Linked DNA regions of Homo sapiens: region 1 is linked to region 2. Evidence: promoter capture Hi-C in 16 types of primary human blood cells and fetal thymus (Javierre and others, 2016). All regions are on one chromosome and are shown on one strand. Each heading gives the region's core, a stretch centred on a gene start or on the middle of the fragment in contact. The rest is flanking DNA. Distances are from core to core; before and after follow the strand shown.

What was found. The method cuts DNA at HindIII sites, captures the fragments that hold promoters and counts their contacts. A CHiCAGO score of 5 or more calls a contact.
Region 1: a fragment that was not itself captured here is called in contact with the fragment with the promoter of CPA6 in region 2 in 1 of 17 cell types (M0 macrophages); the score reaches 5.4 in M0 macrophages.

What each region holds. Positions count from the first base shown.
Region 1 is chr8:68,385,461-68,390,337 of GRCh38, reverse strand. All of the region lies in intron 1 of C8orf34 (chromosome 8 open reading frame 34), which reads right to left. Among named protein-coding and RNA genes, the nearest start is that of C8orf34-AS1, 56 kb to the right of the region's middle. The HindIII fragment of the contact is 2,697 bases long and covers 1,280-3,976 here.
Region 2 is chr8:67,744,114-67,748,772 of GRCh38, reverse strand. CPA6 (carboxypeptidase A6) reads left to right here and starts at 2,413. Exons shown (of 11, transcript NM_020361.5): 1 at 2,413-2,759. The coding sequence starts at 2,644. RefSeq lists an enhancer at 2,087-2,587. The HindIII fragment of the contact is 5,003 bases long and covers 2,244-4,659 here.

The DNA.
Region 1 (4,877 bases), core at 1,379-3,878, 640 kb before region 2:
AATTTGATTCTCTCTCAAACTTTTCTTTTCTCAGGAAACGAAACTCAGTTCATGGAATTCAACTCAGACATGCAACCCAAGGCACTAACACATTAAGGGGCTGTCCAGGGCACAGAATGGTGGGCTGGACAGGGGCCCTCACGTCCTTCAGCCCCAATTAAGTGTATGCCCACTGCATCCTGCTTCTTTCTCCTTCTTTCCATGGCAAAACATCCCACACCAAAAGATACAACAGTGAGGGGAAAAGCAAAACACATTCAAATTTGAAATACGATTCACAAATCCAGGGTAATGGAAGAGTCACCTTTCTTCCAATAGTGATGGTGGTGGTGACCCCTTCAAGAGTAACTGCAGCTCACCAAAATGCTTACTCACATGCTTAATACATAACACCTTAGAAAAGAGGTCAAAAGAAAAGTGGTCATCGTTAGGATTATGTAAGCCTAAACATAATTTTCATCTAAAGAAACCGTCCTTGAACTAGATTTTGCTTTCTGTGAAAAGCAAATATATTTCTCCCCAGATAAGTTCACTAAGGCTTTCAAAAGTAAATAGAAAAGAAATCGTCAAATCATCTCATATATATCAAAAAATCACCTTCTTTTATTTGCTCGCACCTTCAGGTTTTTAATTTGTAACCTCTTGGCTGAAGAAGTGTCCAAGTGTCTAATAAATTCTGAGTTCCTAAGCAACAATTTGAAAAGATAGTCACCCATGCCCTTTACAATATGATAATTACAAATTAAATCCCTGCCTCTTAACAAGGGAGGCTAATGTACCATGTGGATAACAAGTATACTTAGGTGTTGTAGGTGCTTAAAATGTGCCCATAAGTAATCATCGCAATGCCTTCCAATCATCTATTTCATTCCATCTACCATGATCTCTCCTACATGCACTGGGATGATTCTTATTTTTTTGTACCTCACATTTGAGTAGCACTTAATAGCATACATAGCACTTATATATATGATGCCCCATTTAACTCTTGGCAACTATGCAAGTATTATTCTCATCACCACATCACAGATGTGGAAAGTAAGAGCCTGTCCAAGAACATAGATCATGAAGCAAAACTGACATGGAAACCAGGTCTTTGAACTTTATAATTGCCCACTTACTGTGCTTTTTATTCAATATATAACAGGCTCCATGAGGACAATATTTTGCTCACTATTCTATCTACATTTTCTAGCAGAGACAGGAGATTTAATGAATCTCTGCAAAATGAATGCATACAAAAATACGAATGCCAGACCCTACTAGCAATAATAAAGCTTCAATTCACTGAATACTTCCTGGGTAGCATACCTTGTAATCCATATTTTTGCACACATTCTTCATCAACTGACAATACAAAAGAGTTGCAGTACAGTTATGTGACAGAAAAGGCTAACGAGAAACTTATATCACTCATGTAAAACTCAGCTTAGGGCAGTTGTTCTCAAAATGTGATCCCTGGACCAGCAGCATCAGCATGTTGGGAAACAGAAATGCAAATTTTGGGGTACCACTTTACATCTACCAAATTATTTTTACTACTCTAAATAGTCTTAAACACGGTCTTGTTATTTTACCCCTCTATAACATGGCTTTGACTACTTTGTGTTTTGGCACTGGGCAACTGATCTGTATCAAGAAAGATCAACTTACAAAAGTAACTTGATGAATATCCACTTGTTCATTTCTTTTGATGAATATCCACTTGTTCATTTCTCATCAGATGAGTATCATGATGCCATATTGCCTCAGGCTGGCTAAACTATGTGTGTGAGTTGAAGGGGTGGGGGAAAAGTGGAGGAGAAGGGGAGATAAAAGTCCATATTCCTAAGGAGCTTAAGACTAATAGGAGATTTTTTAATAGAAGAGAAATTTTTGTATCAAAATGCATACCATAATGACATAGAAAGTGGTTACATGTACTTTACATGTCAGAAAAGGGGTGATTCTCAGCTAGCTGAGGTGATCAGGCAAGAATTTTCATGAACTCTAGAGAAGGAAAGCTATGTCAGACTCCACTGGGGCTCTGCAGAAATACACAGAGACTAAACAGCTTAAGGACTGAGTTTGCCAAATACAAAATATTAGTAATTGCACTTTATCCTAAAACTCTTCATACAGGCTTTGTGAAGAATATTTCCATGGAAAACAGTGAGTAAAGAGTGGGTAAACGGTAAATTGAATGTCTGTTTTATCTGGAATAAGACCAAAATTGGTCTTGGGAACAAAAACCAGAAGCAATCTTCATGGAATTCATAATTGGAAAAGATCAGTGGAAAATTACCACCAACAACAGAAGGCAATCAAGAACCACTGTAACACAACTACCATGAAATGCACACTCAGTGCTAATCAGTAAGTAGCTCCCTAAGCAGCAGTGAAGTCCTGCAACAAGAGAAGACAGCTCAAGTTTGAAAGCAAGTAAATACCTTTTACTAACTCAGGTGGATGAAGGGAAATAACATTATTTATCAAAATTTACATATATGCTAAATAAAGAAAAAAACACTGTAGAGTTGTCACATTCATGCTCTATTACCTATTTTGTATTTGTTTTAGATTTCAATAAATGATGAGATAGGTAGATCAAAGAATGAGCTATTTTGACTACTTTTGGCTCTGCACAAACATTAAGAATGGTTTTCTACGAGGTTTTTTTCTTTTTTTCAGACACACAGTGCTATGAAGGAAACTCTTTTGCCTATGGTAAATCTCCATCCATTTCTGTATCTTCTTCCTTAGGAACTTGGTGTCTATTCATGACTCTATCATCCTCTCCACCAGCATGGCTGCTCCTTCTTCCTCTATTTGTAAGGAAATTAACTTTATCTTTTTAATCCATATTTGAAACTTCAGGATCATCCTTGCCCATACCTCACACTCTATAACTATTCAATTATACTTCCTATTTAATAGTCCTCACCTGCTGCCTCCTTTCCCAGGTCCACTTAACCATCACCCTAGGTTAGGTCATCATCATTTCTCTGCTAGTAATAAATGCTAACTAATACCTTACACATCCCAGTCACCCCACACACCACCATAAGATGTATCTTCCCAAAGTGGCAATTTGACATGCACTCTCCTACCCAAATGTCATTAGTGATACTCACTTGCCTAACAAAGTTAGTACCCACTTCCTGCCTGACACTGAAGTCGGTCCATGTGCAGAATAAGGCTACTGCCCATCACCACCTTTCACCTTCCTCCCACACATGCACCATGAGCCAGATACACCAAACTACTTCTCCAAGAAAACACTGCATGTGGGTCTCCATCATGCCCATCTTTGTATCATGCCATCCTTCAGCTTGGAATACCTCAGTTAAAATACATTTGCATTTTAGCAAGAAACTTAATGCCTTTCCCTAAAGCAGTAGTTATTAATTTGTGGTGATTTTGTCCTTCAGGGCACTTTTGGCAATGTCTGGAGACTTCTTTCATTGTCACGGCTGGGGGAGGGCTATTTCTGGCATCTAGTTGGTAAAAGCCAGCAATGCTGCCAAACATCCTACAGTGCCCAGGACAGCTCCCACAGCAAAGAATGATCTGGTCCAAAATGTCAGCAGAGCTGAGGTTGAGCAACCCTGCTCTAATGCTGTACACAGCGTGGGCGTCTAAAGGTCTGCAGAAGTCCTAGTGGTAAAAGGTATTTTGAAAGAAGAAGAAAATCCCTTAATATTTCTCAAATCATAACACAGATCTAAGCAGAACTAGCAGTTACCCAAGGACAGCTTCTTATGTCATAGACACTTAGGAGGTTATAGAAGAAAAGACAACCCATGCAATGTTTAAACAGTTAATATCATTAGGATGGTATTACGTTGTTTCCACCTATAGATTCTAGCTTTGTCTCCTGAACAGATACAGAATAAATATATGTTTTATACAACAGCCTTTCATATATTTGAAATATATGTGCTATTCCCCTTAAGTCTTCCTTCTTAAGGTTAATATTGCTAAATACTTCAAAGCTTTTTTATTATGCTAGTCATTGTAGAAATGACCATTGCATTTGGAATATTCTAAATTAAATGCTGAACTTCAGATTTATCCCTATAAAGCTTCATATTATTCATGCCAAGTTCAGGCTCTGTTTTGTTTTGTTTTAATGTATTTCAAAATAAATAGGCCGGGTATGGGTGGCTCACACCTGTAATCCCAGAATTTTAGGAGGCCGAGGTGTGAGGAATGCTTAAGCCCAGGCATTCAAGATCAGCCTGGGCAACACAACAAGACCTCATCTCTATAGAAAGTCAAAACCTTAACCAAGTGTGGTGGACTAGTGGGCCATGCCTGTGGTCCCAGCTACTCTGGAGGTAAAGTAGGAGGGTCACTTGAGCCCAGGAGGTTGAGACCACAAAGAGCTATTACCACGCCACTACACTCCAGTCTGGGCAACAGTGAGAAATCCTGTCTCAAAAATAAGTAAATAAGTAAAATAAAGCTGATTTTTCATCATCTAGGTTTTTGGTAAAAATACTGAACAGGCCATGTTCTGGCACTAGCAAACAACTAGGGACAGTCCTCCAGGCTCATACCAATCATCAATCCATCCTCATGGGCAGGGGGATTCAATAAGATCCAAATGGCTGCACTATCACTAATTCCACATTTCTCCATCTTATACAAATCTGTGTTGTGTATATGAAAGGCTTTTCCAATTGTCTGGAAAAAAAATCTCAGATAAGCTATGTTTCCTACATGGATCTTATCTGTGAGCCTGGTTATCTTATCAGAAGCAAAGATTAAGCTGGTGTAGAATGATTTGTTCTCATTAAACTCACACTGGATTCAATGGAGCATATATCTCACTCACTGTTTTTTATTATTCAACATTTAATCACAAATTGTATAATTTTATTATAGGTCAATTA
Region 2 (4,659 bases), core at 1,164-3,663:
TTAGGAAGGTTACAGGATGTCACCGGAGTTTCTGGCATTTTTGATGGTCCAGGAAATGATTCCTTTGGTCTCAGAGTCTGGAGAGCCTCTGCCGAACATGCTTGCGGGATCCAATCCTTCAGAATGATTTGAGGATGAGTTTAATTCTCAGTCAGAGACTGAACATTCCTAGTTTAATGTTGTGATATAATATGACAGATTTATACATTGTTCTGACATAGCGAAATGCAAAGAGATGAAGTGTTTTATTTACACAGTAACCTCTTATTTCCACAGATCATTGGCTTTCCTGGGCTCATCTAAAAGGCCTGTGAGTACTGCTGTGAGTCTTGCAGAGCAGCCTGACCAGTTTAGGAAGACAAAAGTACAAGGCCAGGAAGTCAGGAAAGAAGGCAACATAAAAAAGAAACGAAACCAGACATGATCACCCGGGGAACTTCCACTCTCCAAAAGCACCCATAGTGTTCTCTGCTCCCAAGGTGCTCTCTCCTCTATCTGGACACAGAAGCATCTATGTTAATGTTTGTTAAATGAATTTCTTCCCTGGTTCATCGTTCATCCAACAGACATCGTTGATCACTCCTTCAGGAAACATTGTATTCCCTCGAGGAGGTATAAGGAAGTGCACAGGAAGACCAAAAGGATACAGTTCTGTATTCAAGGAGAAAGCAGCCTCATGAGGAAACCAGACAAGAAATTTGATGTGGTAATTCCTACAGTAGAGGACATGCCAGGATTTGTGAGGGACACAGAGGAGGCATTAACCAAACTGATGCTGAGAAAGTTGCAGAAAAATTCAGAGCATCATTTCAAATGAAAACCATTTCAGCTGTTTCATGAACCTGACATTGAATCTGTCAAAGGAGTTTTGGTTCAACTCCCCAGGTAGAGAAGATGGGAAAGATTGGGTGCTCTCTCTTCTAACAGGGACTCTGGCTATAGTATTAGAGGGTACAGGAGTTCTTGGCTATGACTCTCCAGGAAGCCTGAAAAGTTTTGTGAGTGTGATGAGGAAATAGTGGCTCACTCTCTGTTTTAGAGCACAACCAGGACTGGGCATGAAAGGTAACAGGAGGCACCCTAGGTGCCTATGCTTATTTAATAGGGCGAGGCACATCCCCTGTAATGGGTTTTGTGGCGTATTGGAATAGGAGCAAGTGGATGCAAATAATAATTTTAAAAAGCTTTCATCATCAACATGGGAAAAAAGAGAAGGAAATGGTTTTCTCCAAGGTTTGCTTGGAAGAAAAAGCAGACCTCATTCTAAAGTGAAGTCTTGCTACTCCAAGTGTGGCTGAAGAGCCAGTGGCACCAGCATCACCTGGAAGCTTCTTTAGAAATGCAGACTCGGCCAGGCGTGGTGGCTCACACCTGTAATCCCAGCACTTCGCAAGGCCGAGACAAGCAGATTGCCTGAGGTCACGAGTTCAAGACCAGCCTGACCGACATGGGGAAACCTCGTCTCTACTAAAAATACAAAAATTAGCTGGGCGTGGTGGTAGGCACCTGTAATCCGAGCTACTCAGGAGGCTGAGGCAGGAGAATCGCTTGAACCTGGGAGGCGGAGGTTGCAGTGAGCCGAGATGGGGACTTGGCACTCCATCCAGCCTGGGCAACAAGAGCGAAACTCTGTCTCAAAAAAGAAAAATAAAAACTCTTAGGCCCCTGTTCCAACCTACGTCAGAGCTGCAGTTTAATGAGATCCCCAGGTGACTTCTATGCATGTGGAGCTCTGAGAAGCCCTGCTCCAGACCAGCATGGTGGTTGAATATTGGAATCACCTAAGGAGCTTTTTAAACCACTGATCCCACCACCACGGTTTCTATTTTCAAGGTCTGGCTCCCTAAATGATTCCAAATGTACAGCCAAGGTGGCAAAGCACTCGAAGGCCTCCTATTCCCCACGAGAACCTCTGAAACAGCAGCAGGTCTGGGTGCTGCTGATGCAGAATGAGTACCAAGATCTCCCTGAAGCCCAATAAAGCCACTGACCACTCCTGTAAGTCAGGAGCAGTGAACTGAAGCCAGCTGTTCGGATCTGGGTGCTATAGGTACCCCCGTGCACGTTCTCATCATGATTGTTCATTGTGCATTTCATTAGGTGGAATCCGTTTAGGAATCTGTCATGGGAGATCAAAAAAACATTAAGCTTGGAATAATCCATGTCTGCTTGTTTAGCCCATCAGACAAATCATTTGCAATTAGGTAGGATCCTCATGCTGAAGAAGATAGAGAAAGAAAGCTTGCACAGAAAAGTTAGAGGCCTCAAGTTGGGAAAGCAAACAAACCAAAAGCAGAGAGGAGTCACCCAAAGGAAGCAGCACCCAGTGAACCCCTGCCGTGAGTCAGCACGAGGGAGGCCCAGCCCTTTCTAGGGGAGCCTGATTAAAGATCAGGCTCAGCTGCTGCTGCTGCTGCTGCTGCTTGTCCCAAGACCAAGTCGTAATAGCAACTTCCCTTCCTCAGCTGCCTGAACTTTTTTTTTCCCTTGTAGCTGGAGAGAAGTGTCACATTTTGCTCACTCTCAACCTTCCTCGCCCACCCCCTTCCCGGAGAACCTGTGCGGTGTGTAGAGGGTGCTGTGAGCCACCTCCAGCCTCGGGTGGCTGCTTAAGTAACTTTCAACTCCTCTCTTCTTAACACTATGAAGTGTCTCGGGAAGCGCAGGGGCCAGGCAGCTGCTTTCCTGCCTCTTTGCTGGCTCTTTTTGAAGATTCTGCAACCGGGGCACAGCCACCTTTATAACAACCGCTATGCTGGGTAAGTGGAGCGACATTCATGCCCTACACAGCTTTGATTTGGATCTGGGGGCTGGTTTGCTCCAGAGTGTGCCTCACTTTTTCTGATTTGGGGGTCTCTGAGTGAATCTGCACACTTTCACGGTCCTCTATATAAAATGTACTCACAGCTCTCTGCTCTTGGCTTTAGCTCACTGAGAGAATGTGGTGGGCTCCAACCTGGCTTTTTATACTTTTTATCATGTGCCAACCTTAGCTGTGGACCCAGGGTTGAATGGGATTCTGTCTTTGGAGTAGCCATGGTCAGTATTTACAGTGTTTGCCTTGGTTGATGCTTGGGGATGCTGTTGTCCTACATGATTTATGACCTGAAAACTAAGCCTTTCTTTACAATTGTATGTAGGAGCGGTGGGTTGAAATTCATCAGTGATTAAGAACTGAGTGTGATTTTTTTTTTGTCTGTGCTTATTAGTCTGTAGAGTGGTTATTAGATTTTTAAATATGAGCAATGCAAATGATTCAACTCAAAATAAGCAGAATAAAAGTAGTCAACTGTAAAATTATGGATAGTTTTTCTGAAGGAAAAACATAGGAGTAAAACAATCAGTTTTGTCCCCCCTCCGTAGGTAAGCATGCTTTCTATATGCCTTTCTTCAGGAGGCAGAGGGCTGGAAGCCGTGTGTTACTATGCACATTCTTATTATCCTGAAGGCTTGCTGTGGTATAGACAGCATGTGATTTGCTCACATATGCAGGGGGTCGTTCTTAGAATCTGGAAATTATGGCTTGCCTGCACTTTAGATCTGGAAAAACCTTAAATACTTCCTCTAGTTCAATTCCTTTTTACAGAGGAGTAAACTCAGTGTCTTACATATTTTTAAATAGGCTACTATCATTCAATAATCACCACCTGAGAAAAGTTTTCATGTAGATCTGGATCATGACAAGGTAGTGTACAGTGTCTTAAAACCAAGTTGTTCTTTTTAGAAATAGTGTAAAAGAGAATTTGTAAGTGTGACCCTGGAAAAGAGAATTGTATTTCTCTTTCTCTCCCAAAGAATCTTGGCACTGCCTTTAGGGTTCCTCTGAATACAGTGCTTACAGAGGAAATTTTGGAAACATGTCCTCAGTTTTAGGGGAGGCAGGATGAGATGGAGGTGTTGGCTGAGGTAGGGGCTATAGATGGCAATATGATCACGGATTTTTCCACCCCAGTATTTCTGGGAGGAACGGAAAGGAGTTAACATCCCAGGGCTGCCTTTTGGCCTGGACATACAAGATCTCAACTTTACCTCCGATAATTTGTGACCCCTTTAGAGATCTGGAAAAAAGAAGCTCATGTTTAAAGACTGATGGTGCAGGCTTGGGTTGTGGGGGACTTAATTCTGACTCTCCTGGCTGATGCCGGGTCAGATGATAAACATAGATCACAGATTTAGACACACGTGTATGACCTAAGACCTCACTCCTCCACTCAGCTGTGGCTCTGTGCATAATTATTTCAGCGTGTGGCACTCCTCCGTGAAAAGTTACCAGGCCTGCTTCAGCTGAGCAGGTGTGCACCCTTCCCTAAGCACCACTTTGAAGAGGAAATGAGGCCAGTGGTGGCACCCTTTTCGTATAGAATTTGTAGCGACTGGAACCCTTCAGGAAAAAGTTTCATTACCTTCTCTGTTTTCAGCAATGGACATAATAATTGCTATTTTCTCTTCAGTTGCTACATAAGTTAATCCCAAGTGTATAAATTACCAGATGTCTAAGAGTAGGAGGGAAGAAAAAGATGAGAGAATGAAAAGAAGTGAGTCTCACTCAACCATTGCAATACAAGCCTAGAGCTTCTTTAAAAGCAAAAATATTTCTGAGCATATTCACTGTTAAAAATGGGGAATTCTACCTTCATTAGACATGTCATTTTCTCATCG